2 separate regions of the Homo sapiens genome follow, and region 2 is linked to region 1. Evidence: promoter capture Hi-C in human tissues and cell types (Jung and others, 2019). All regions are on one chromosome and are shown on one strand. The core of a region is centred on a gene start or on the middle of the fragment in contact, and the rest is flanking DNA. Distances in the headings are between cores, read along the strand shown.

The links. The method cuts DNA at HindIII sites, captures the fragments that hold promoters and counts their contacts. A contact is called where the count stands out against the background at its distance.
Region 2: a contact is called between a fragment that was not itself captured here and the fragment with the promoter of ANKRD31 in region 1, in 1 of the 25 tissues and cell types used here (hippocampus).

The regions. Positions count from the first base shown.
Region 1 is chr5:75,235,056-75,240,898 of GRCh38, reverse strand. ANKRD31 (ankyrin repeat domain 31) reads left to right here and starts at 4,021. Exons shown (of 26, transcript NM_001372053.1): 1 at 4,021-4,316. The coding sequence starts at 4,213. LOC124901006 (a long non-coding RNA gene) reads right to left here and starts at 3,861. Exons shown (of 2, transcript XR_007058823.1): 1 at 3,533-3,861; 2 at 11-162. RefSeq lists a silencer at 3,781-4,080 and an enhancer at 4,131-4,300. The HindIII fragment of the contact is 20,855 bases long and covers 1-5,843 here.
Region 2 is chr5:77,131,683-77,137,048 of GRCh38, reverse strand. The region is part of intron 2 of ZBED3-AS1 (ZBED3 antisense RNA 1); the gene reads right to left. It also overlaps a transcript of PDE8B not described here. Among named protein-coding and RNA genes, the nearest start is that of ZBED3, 47 kb to the right of the region's middle. The HindIII fragment of the contact is 4,061 bases long and covers 1,462-5,366 here.

The DNA.
Region 1 (5,843 bases), core at 2,772-5,271:
GAATACTTGGTGAAATACTTCATATAGTTTTATTTTGGGGAGAAATATTACTAAGGTGAAAGTGGCTGCTGGATTTAGTCTCTTAGAGATTCATATTGTGTTATGATAAATCAAATCTTCCATGAAAGTCTCATCTCTTACAGTTCTAGGATCCAAAGTAACCTGGATAGGAAATAAATAATATGAAGCTATAGGCAGCGAAGAATCTTAATTATAAAAGCAAAATATATTGTGTAATCACAAAATAATGAGCCTTCTTTTTCTTTTTAAACATCAAAAAAAAATTTTAAATTCACCTTTACAACAATAATTCCCCAAGAGGACATTTTTCTTGTAAGATTATAGCCCAAATGGAGTAGACCAAGTAAAATTTAATTACATTTCTTAAAAATTATGGCCAGGCGTGGTGGCTGAAGCTTGTAATCCCAGCACTATGGGAGGCCGAGGTGGGTGAATCACCTGAGGTCAGGAGTTCGAGGCCAGCCTGACCAACATGGAGAAACCCCGTCTCTACTAAAAATACAAAATTAGCCGGGTGAGGTGGCACATATCTGTAATCCCAGCTCCTTGGGAGGCTGAGGCAGGAGAATCACTTGAACCCGGGAGGTGGGAGGTTGCAGCGAGCCAAGATCGCGCCATAGCACTCCAGCCTGGACGACAAGAGCGAAACTCCGTCTCAAAAAAAAATTTTTTTTCCCCCTCATTAACTATGGTTATTCTGAATATAAAGTGTATAGGAGAGGCAGGATAAAGTCTTTTTATCGTTATTAATTTTAGAATAATAAATGGTGTCTAGCAACCTCCAAAAGTAGCCAATTATTATTTTTTAATAATAATGTTTACAGATTTTTACATACTCGGCGATGTTTTAATCTATTTGAAAATTCAAACTAATTCAAAAGAAAGCTGAGCTCTATTTCCTTTGAAACACAGTTGCAGTACCTGATTCCTGCCATTCCTGAAATACCTGGGAAACCTCTCCTTGGTTCAATTACATGACTCAACTCACCCTGCTTAAACCAGTATGAATTGTACTGCAGCCTAGATTTCCTAAAACAGATCTTCTGTTCATTTTTCCACCTCTGTCCTGCACTGAAACTTTGGATTTCATAAAAACAAACAAAAAAAGGTTTATTTAAAATCACACTGGCATTTATGAGGCTCATCTCTGCCATTTCTTTTTCATTCTTTGAATCTTAGCAACTCTCTTAAATAAAAGGAGAACAGATGATGCAAAAATAACTGACTTTTTCCCGCCAAAAGAGAAAGCATTTTTAAAAAGAATGTGAATTTCAGGCCCAGAAGAATGTGAATTTATCTATAGCAGATCCTCGAATAACATTTATTTCAATGGTGTTTCAACACTGATGAGGGAAGAAAATTATTATACTTCCCAGCCAGGGCCACTGTGTATGTGGAGTTTGCATGTTCTCCCTATGTCAGCATGTTTCCTCCAGGTATTCTGGTTTCCTCTCACATCCCAAAGATGTGTATGTTAGGCTCATTGACTTATCTAACTGGTCTCAGAATGAGTGTGTGTGTGTGAGTGAGCACGCTCTTCAATGAAATGGCCTCCTGTGCTGGGTTGGCTCCTGCCTTGAGCCCTGAGCTGCCAGGATAGGCTCCAGCCACTCTCAACCCTGAACTGGAATGACTAGGTAAATAATTATCTTATTTGTTTTTATTAGTCTTTCTTAAATATATATATTTTTATTAATCTTTCTTAAATATATATGACATTTCTTATATATATTTATTAAATATATATTAAATATATTAAGAAATATCTTAAATATATATCTTAGATATTTATTATATATATTAAATATATTAAGAAATATCTTAAATATATATCTTAGATATTTATTAAATATATTAAATATTTATTATTAAATATATATTTAATAAATATCTGATATATATTTAAGATATTTCTTAAATATATATATTTAATAAATATATATATAGCTCACGTTTATTTCAATGTTTAATAGTAAAGGTGTTTTGGTGTTTATTTACAAGTTTGGTAATGTTTTTGTGACCAGAAATATGTTGTAAGAACTTAACTCTCATATATATCAATTAGACAATGGTAAAATTGGTTTCCTTGTAAGTCATTTTGTTTTAGGTTGCAGTTTCCAAGACCCTACCGACAGACATTAAGTGAGGACTTATTGCACTTAGCTTGTTACCAGCTGTTTGGAGCAAGTACTGTTACTAGTGGAGTCATCTTTCCCTCTGGGGCAAATGGAGCCACTCACCACCATTTACTGGGTATGCATCCCCCAATTCCTGTGAAAGCAGAGTTGGATAATTAAAAGAATGGGTGAAGTGGGCATAGTGGCATGAGATTGTAGTTCCGGCTATTTGGGAGGGTGAGGTGGGAGGACAGCTTGAGCCCAGGAGTTGGAGATTAGCTTGGGCAACACAGAAGAATGCGCTAATGAATTAATTAAACAGTGGGTGAGCAGGAAAGGTGATAGGAATTTAGGTCTGATTTAGACACGGAGGGTATAAATGGACTACTGTTAAAAAAAATAAAAAAGAGGTCTAGTTCTTTGCATATTTATTATTGCTCTGCCTAATTTACAGAGTTGAGGCGAGGAATTTTATTTAAGTAAGTTACTTATTCAAGTAAGTTTATTTTTTTATTTTTTGAGACATGGTATGACTCTGTTGCTCAGGCTGGAGTGCGTTTGCTCAATCATAGCTCATTATAACCTCAAACTCCTGGGCTCAAGCGATCCTCCCGCCTCAACCTGAGTAGCTGGGACTACAGGCCCATGCTACCATGCCCTGCTAATTAAAAACAAATTTTTTGCAGAGATAGGGGTCTCACCATGTTGCCCAGGCTGGTCTTGAACTTCTGGTCTCAAGCAATCCTCCTGCCTCGGCCTCCAATGCATTGAGGTTACAGGTAGAGCCACCACCCCCAGCCTCAAGTTAAGTTTAGAAGATAATCACCAATCAAGCATTTTAAATAGCAGTGGCTTGAATATACATAGTAAAAACACAAAATAATAATAATGATAATAATGGCAAAGCTACTCCATATAGTGAAAAGGGCAATGAATTGGGAAGTCAGAAATCTCTAGCTCCATCCATTTATGACAAAACTTAGACTTTATATGTGCTAGATGCTGGAGACTCCAAGGTGAATACTAAACACTTGCTATGGGAAAACAACTTGGTCTTTTCTTGAATCTTCTTCTCACTTGGCAAGTGGAAGCTCACTTGGCTTTGTTTTGAATTAGTTTGAATTAAAAATGTTCAACTAGACTGAAACACATCAAATATATAAAATTCTAGTACTTCATTAAAACGCAATTGACTACTTTTGGAGGTTGCTAGGCATTACTATTATTATAAAAATTGATAAAAGAGGAAAAAATAAAGCATTTATCCTGCCTTTCCTGCATAATCTGTATTTCAGGTAACCAAAGCGTTGTTGAGAGAAAAAAAAAATGCAAAATACATCACTGAGATTAGTTGATGAGCTAAAACTTCTGATAAACGTATCTGTTTTGTCTACCTCAGAGGACACTTGAGGAGAGGCTGTCAAGGGATTAAAGGGAAAGGAAGCACTTGGTGGGCTGCAAAAACTCTCTTTAGGTCTAAGGTCGCATTCTGGCTCCAGAATGCCAGGGCTGCTGGGGCGGGCAGGAGCTGACAGCTCTTCCCGTATCTGGGGCTCACAAGCATCAGGTGCATGGCAGGTCACCCTCCCGGCCAAGGGTGTTAAGCAGGCTCGGTCTGAGTTCTGGGTGCGCCACGCCTGCCTTTCTGGTCTCTGCAGCAGCAACCCCAGCACCCTCAAAGCCTAGCGACCGAGAATGAGAAACCGTGAAAAAAACACGCAGCGGCAGGCCACGCCCAGAGTAGGCCTGCGCGCGCGCGCGCGGCCTCCCACTTCCGGCCACGGGAGCTGGGGGCGGGGCCGAGCGCTGCGCAGGGCTCCGTCGTGTGGCGAGCGGCTGCCCCCTGTCTGCGACGAGCGGCGGGACCCGCGGGCCGCCTCGCAGACTGCTACCCCGCCGCGCTCGCGGCCGCCTGCGTCCTCCTCAGCAGCCCTGCGACAAGTCCCGGCTCCTGCTGCGATTATATTATTTTTATTTTTAATTCACAATTTCCCCTGGCCCTCAAAGCGTTTTTTTGTTTGCGGGCAAGAGGGAGTTAGAGGAGGGTAAAAAAGACTTTGAATGTGAGGCAAAGATGGAGGAAGGCGTCCAGGCCCCAGACTGGGACAGTGATGAAACTGTGATAGAGGGTTCAGTGACGGAGAGCGACCTGGAAGAAAAGGAGCTGCCCTGGAGAAGGTGACCATCATTAGGGCCACAGTGCCTGAACCCTCGCGCCAGGGCGGCCCAGGTGCCCTCTGAGGGGGTCAGAGTTTTGAGTGGAGATCGTGACCAGAACATGTGCTTGTGGGCAGGATCAGAGCCTTGTGGGGCAGCCGTGCCTGAGCTGAGAGCTTGTAAATAAGCAAACACAGTCTGTTCCCACCTACCCCCAACCAGCTAGGGATAAAATGAGGTTTGTACTAGGTGGCTTTATAGCATTTTTCAAAAGGCTTTCCTTTTGGGGGCTTTAAGTCTTTTTGCACAAGCAAAAAAGATCTTGGGTCTGAACTTAACTGCATTTTGTTTCAGGAGACTTCATTTTGCTTCAAGAGACTCGTAGCTCAGTTCTAGGAAAATGGGTAACAGTTTCTCTCAAGAAAAGAATGTGTGATGGGGAAACTGGTCCCTGCCAAACTGGAAACGAATAGTTTTATACGAATCCAAAAAAGTCGGTATTTCAGGTTATCGAAACCTTTCTCTAACATATTCTCTGTGCTAGACACAGGGAAAAGAGGGCAGGGATGAGGCCACTAGGTCTGCTTCATATGTGCTCAGGGCTGTGTCTGGGACTTAAGTTGGATCGTACACAGAATTAGGTCATTCTCCTTTCCCTCTCTCTCTTCTCCAGGATTCTCCTGCCCCCTTTCCTCATCATACCCACTTGCCAGTTCATATGATCAGAAAGACAGGTTTCTTTGAGTGTTAGCCTTTTCACTATACAGCAGTTCCTTACAAGGGGGACAGCCTTTAGCACAGAGTTAAGAAAAGAGAGAAAAAAGGGGGATTCTGTCCACACTTTTCAGGCAATACCGATCCCTTTTCCCAGTTCCTCTGGTAGACACTTTCTCTTGAGTTTTATGTTCCCCAGTTGCCATGGTTGGTGTCTGCTCTGAGGCTAGGGCCAGCCTTGGGGCAGGGCTGGGAGGTGAGAGAGAAAGCAACATAAAGCCCTGGGCTTTGTCCTATACCTTCTGGCATGCAGGGGTCATTTTCCTTGGTCTTCTGGATAAAAATAGGTTTACTGTCTGTGCCCACTGGATGGTTCAAAGCTGAAAGACAAAAAAGAACCAAAAAACCGAAAACAAACTGAAACTCGTCAATAAATGGGTTGTTATTAAGATTTCAACTTCAGTCCCCAATCTACCTGCTATTGTTTACTTTTCAAGGTTCTCGAGTAGTTTTTAAAAAATATTCATTCGGAGTTTTTGGTTGTAATGAGAAACAGGCAGAGGTTGCTATGAGCCAAAATGACTCCACTGCACTCCAGCCTGGGCGACAGAGTGAGACTCTATCTCAAAAAAAAAAAAAAAAAAAAAAGTACCAGCAAGACTTTCTGTTGAACTAGACAACTGATTCCAAAGTTTATATCGTAAAATAAATAAGAGCAATTAGGAAAAGTCTGAAAAATAAGAACAATAAGGAGGTAATGACCTATAGGATATTAAAATATTTTCTGATATAAAATATTTTAAATATGATACTGGCACATAAAGTGACAGATCA
Region 2 (5,366 bases), core at 2,243-4,742, 1.9 Mb before region 1:
GAGAATGAAATCACCAAGAAGCAAACTGATTTTGTCCTGTACGAACTCTCAAACTAGTGCCCAGGCTTTGAGCACTAGTTGGGGTGAGGCAACTGATAAAAATAGAGAGATTTGTTCAAAATCTATTTAATAAACATATAGTCCTCACCCATAGCCCAAAAAAAGTGATGAAAACCCTTCCTTACAAATATTTTTGGAGGAAAAACTGAACCAGAAGTTTCTAGTATATGATGGGGGTTAGAATCCAGAGTAAAAATATTGAATGATGCAAATGTTCTCCTCATCTCAGCTGCAAAAATGCCAGCAGCTAGGCTTATACCCTTCAAGAGGGAGACCGGAAGATTCTTCTCTCCAGACATCAATTCTCCAGAGAGAATTCTAACAGATATTGACATCTGAGTTTCTCCCATTGACAAAGCCACCTTACTGCCATACACACTGCAGTGGAACCAAGGAGGGTGACAGTTTTCAGGACAAGAGGAGGCTGAGGAGAGGTCACCCCCAGACTCAAAATTTCCAAGGATGGTACCTATTTTAAATATTCAGTCTCCTTTTCTTCATAAATGTCCTTGGACCTGTATTACTAGATGTTTAGATAAGTGCTTTTAAAACCCTCCCAAGCCCACAGACTTGTCATTTAGCTGGCTAGTGCTTCACTCTCAAATAAGAACAGATAGTCAAAAATCAGTAGACATTTGAAAAAGTTTCCTTACATGAAAGACAGACACAAAAGTCAAACCAAACAAAACAAAACAAAAACAAAACAGAAAAGGCTACTTAGAGGAAGTAGAGACAAGGTAGGGAATAAATAAACACTTCAAAGACAAAACTAGAAATAACATCCTTAGATAAGAAGAGAAAGTGCATTCATGAAAGGAAAACAGAATAATATAGAAAACAAGTAACTGGAAAATAAGAAAGAGCTCTTGGAAATTAAGAGTAAGAAAGCTGAAGTTTTAAAAGTTGCTAGAAAAGTTGAATGATAAAGTTGAGGAAGTCTTTTAGAAAACAGAACTGAAAGACAAAGATGTGGGCAATAGAGGAAAAAAGATAGGAAAATTAGAAGCTTGATCCTGGGGGTCAACATCCAACTAATAGGAGTTCCAGAAAGAGAATTTTGAGGCCAGGCACCTCAAATTTGCCAATGCTCATGCCTGTTATCCCAGCACTTTGAGCAGCTGAGGTGTGGGTGAGGGACCGTTGCAGGCCAGAAGTTCAAGACCAGCCTTTTCAATATAGCAAGATCCTGTCTCTATTAAAAAAAAAAAAATTCCAGCCAGGCACGGTGGCTCATGCCTGTAATCCCAACACTTTGGGAGGCCGAGGCGGGTGGATCACGAGGTCAGGAGCTCGAGACCAGCCCAACCAACATGGTGAAATCCCATCTCTACTAAAAATACAAAAATTAGCTGGGCATGGTGGCGCGTGCCTGTAATCCCAGCTACTCAGGAGACTGAGGCAGGAGAACTGCTTGAACTCTGGAGGCGGAGGCTGCAATGAGCCGAGATCGTGCCACTGCACTCCAGCCTGGGCCACAGCGAGACTCCGTCTCAAAAAAAAAAAAAAAAAAAAAAATTCCTCTGGCTGAAAGTCTTGAGTCCCTCAACTGAAAGGGTCTCCCAAGTGTCCAGCACAATGAATTCAAACCATACTAAGTCATATTATTATTTCAATTAGAAATGCTGTGGCATTTATGTCATTTTGGATCCTCTTAGATGTCAAGATGAGATTAGGTAGTCAAGAGATTTATTGGGAGAAATGCCTGTGAAGGATAAAGGAATGCAGAGCAGAAGAATATAATGCAGGTCTGCTACCTGGGAAAGAAGAGAGGAAAGAAAGTCCTGCCTAGGAAAAGCTTCAGGCTGCAGCACAGTTCTGAGAAACTGTGACACTGTGTCCAGCCAGAACAAAGGAGTGTTAGTGTCTGAGGCAAAGGCTGTTCATTAGAGTAGCCTCACATCAGGTAGGCACAAGTGGCTCTACTGTCCTCATCTTATTCAGTGATCAGCTGGGAGCAGTCGAAGGGAAGTATGGCCTCTACGTAGCTGTCACTCAGCTATGCTTTCCATGGCCGACTATCTTAAAGGGACATCTAAGCAGTGTACCTCCAGGACTGCCACAGTCCATTTCTTTTCCTCCATAGATCCAGTTCCCCATGGCTCCTGTGGGCCCTCTTCTTGAGGAAATACTTAGAAGAGAGAAGTTAATGGGAGGAACTATAGCCCCTAGTGCCGCCAGTTGTCTTGAGATCGCAACCCATAGTCATCTTCTCCTACCTGCACTATCCAATCTAAATTCCCCTCCCCCTCTTTATTATCTTCATTATCTTTATTCCAGAAGGTCTTAGCTGTTGGCAGTCACATCACAGATTGGGCAAGACTACAGAAAAACTTGACCACAGGGATCACCTGGGATCCATACACATTCCTTCCTCCCTGTCCCATTGTGTACAGGCAGCCTCACCTCTTTCTGCTGATGGAAGTCAATGATTTCTTCTTTTCACCTGCTGGTCTCTTCATAGAAAGAGTCCAAAATGCCCTGGTGGCAGCCATAGTATATAGTTCAATGGGACACTTGCTGTGTCTCCTGCCAAGCTGCACCTCATTTGAGGACCAAAACCTCTAATCTCATAGAGCCCAGAGTTGTAGAGACAAGAAGCACAAAGTTCCCCAGGAGGTCATTGGAAATGATAAGTGGGTCCACTCCTGCTTCCACTTCTTGGTTCTCAGACCCATGTATTCTTCCTGTTGAGGACATAGCACCACATGGAGAACCCCAGTTTAATGTATACAGTGCATCCTGCAGGATGGTACCCTGTTCTTTCAGAGCATTGCCTCCAGCTGGAGCTCCAGCTGTGCCTTTAGTAACCATTCCAATGCTTTATGAGGCTGGCTCCATCTAGGTGATACAGTATCTGATATGACCAGTGGATCCCATGGTCATTGTCCTATTCCCAAGCCTCCTTTGCGATGAAGTGATCCTCTGGTCAATATTATGCTGTGTGTGCTTCCATGACTACAGATCGGCCCCAGGTAGTGGGGCTTGCTGAAGCTCTGTGGCAAGGAAAGGCAAATCTAAAGCCAGGAGAGGTATCTAACCCTGTGAGGATGAACTGTGGAACCTTCCAGGACAGAAGGCCCAATATAGCTGACTTGCCAACTATATTGGAGATGCAAAAGTTTATTTTCCAACTCAGCAAGTCCCAGAATTCTTGGGCTCCCTGCATTCCACCTACATGTTCCTTGAAACCTGGCTGGTTCTTTTCTGAACTCATCTCTAGTACCTATTATATGCAGCTAAATACAACTAGCTCACACTTTTATCATTGTGCATGAAGACTTCTCAGCACAAATCCAAATATTTTTAGGTACATATGCTAACTTCCAAGTTACCAAAGGTGACAGTTTTAGAAAATGTCTCATCCCTGCAAAACACAGATTACCATTTTCTTTCCAGCCTCCTATAACAGTTTTCTTGTGCCCATCATCCAGCCTCCAAACCAATGCCACTTATTTTTTTGTTTTCTTGTGCCTATACCTCACTACAAATATCAATTTCTAATACCAATTAGATACTAATTTCTGATACCAAAAGCTATTGCCACAAAATGTTATATGACAAACATCCAAAAATTCAGTGGCTTAAAATAACAGTCGTTTATTGTCATTGATCTATGAATCAGCTGAGTGTTGGCAGATCCAAGCTGGGCTCCACTGTGCAGCTCTGCTGATTCAGGCTGAGCTTGGCCAGGAGGGTTTGGCTTTGCTCCATGTGTTACTCATCCTCCTTCTAGAACCAGTGGGCTAGTCATCAGCCTGTTTGTTCTGTGCTTCTGATGGCATAAGCCTAAGAAAACAAGCCCAACCACACAAGTGTTTTTCAAGCCCCTACTTGCAACATACTTGCTAATATCCCACTAGCCAAAGTAAGTCAGGGTGAGGGAGAAAAGTGAATATTTTGAATAATAATCTAACCTACCACATGTTATTGTGGAATCATAGGTCATCTCCAAAGAGGAAAAGTCATCAGATACAAAGGATTGTGAATGAGAATGGCAGAACTTCTCTAGAGCAATATCAGAAGCTAGAAGACAATGAAATGCCTTCCAAATTCTGAGTGAAATTGTTTTAAACCTAGAATTCCATATCCGTCTAAACTATCAGTTAATTATAAGGCTAGAATAAAGATATTTTGAGATATGCACATGTAGAGTCTCAGTTAATGTACCTCCCATAGACCTTTCCTTAGAAGCTACTAGAGAATAAGAACCACCAAAAAGACGCAACCAAAACAGAGGAAGATAGAAAACATAGGAAATCCAGTTTAGGAGAGAGATGATGGAAATTTCCAGCATGATAGCACATGAAGTTCCATATTGTTGCACAGAAGACAGCAAGACTAGTCTGGAGCAGAGGGATGGAGGGCTCCATGGCTCTCTGCAGCGTGGGGAATTTGACTGAGTGGAAAGATACATAAAATGCTATTGTAGACAGTGGGAAAACCCAAGTATAGGTAAAATGGAAAACTAAGCAAATGAAAAATAACACAATTATTTAGAGGTATGTAGAAGGACGTAAAATCATAGCCCACTATTTTGTTCAGCCATAAACAATATTTCATATTATAAGAAGAACTGTCCTATAACTATATTGAGAGAATGGGAAGAAGAAAGTGAATAATGCCATAATAGAGAGTCACCAGACAATATTCAAGGTTGATAAATCAGGAAAAACAATATAGCACATATTAGTTAGCAATATGGAGGAAATGTATTGAGTCTGGAAAGTGGAATTAGAAAATATGAGGGGTGGGACATGGGCTTGTTCTATTTGGTTGCAAATCTTTTATCAATATTGGACTGTTGTGTAAAAATATGTACATATATTACTCTGATAAATTTTTTCAGGCCTAGGGAAATGTAATACAATTAGCTTGTATACTACTTTGGTGAGAGCAAATTTCATCTATTTTATCATTTATTGAATAAATATTTTTGCTTTGTTCTAGGTACAAATATTTTTGCTTAGTTGTAGGCATCAAAATAATTATGCACCGTGTTTGATGATTACAAAACACATTTGCATATATTTAATCTTGTGATTCAATTCTTACAACTCTGTGAGTTTGATACAGAAGCAAATTTACCTTGCTGTTAATGAATTCTAAGTTGCAGGACTGTTTGTTGAATGGACCCCTTTCTAACTCTGGAAAGGGGCCCTATCAATAAGTTTACATGGTTGTATAATTTTGTAAATTATACCCAAAAAAAGCCTTTTGTTAAGATCACTTCAACTCCTAATGCATCATATTTCCCCTTATGTGAACAAGAGAATTGTTTCTAAATAAACGCACAATTTTGTACCCAA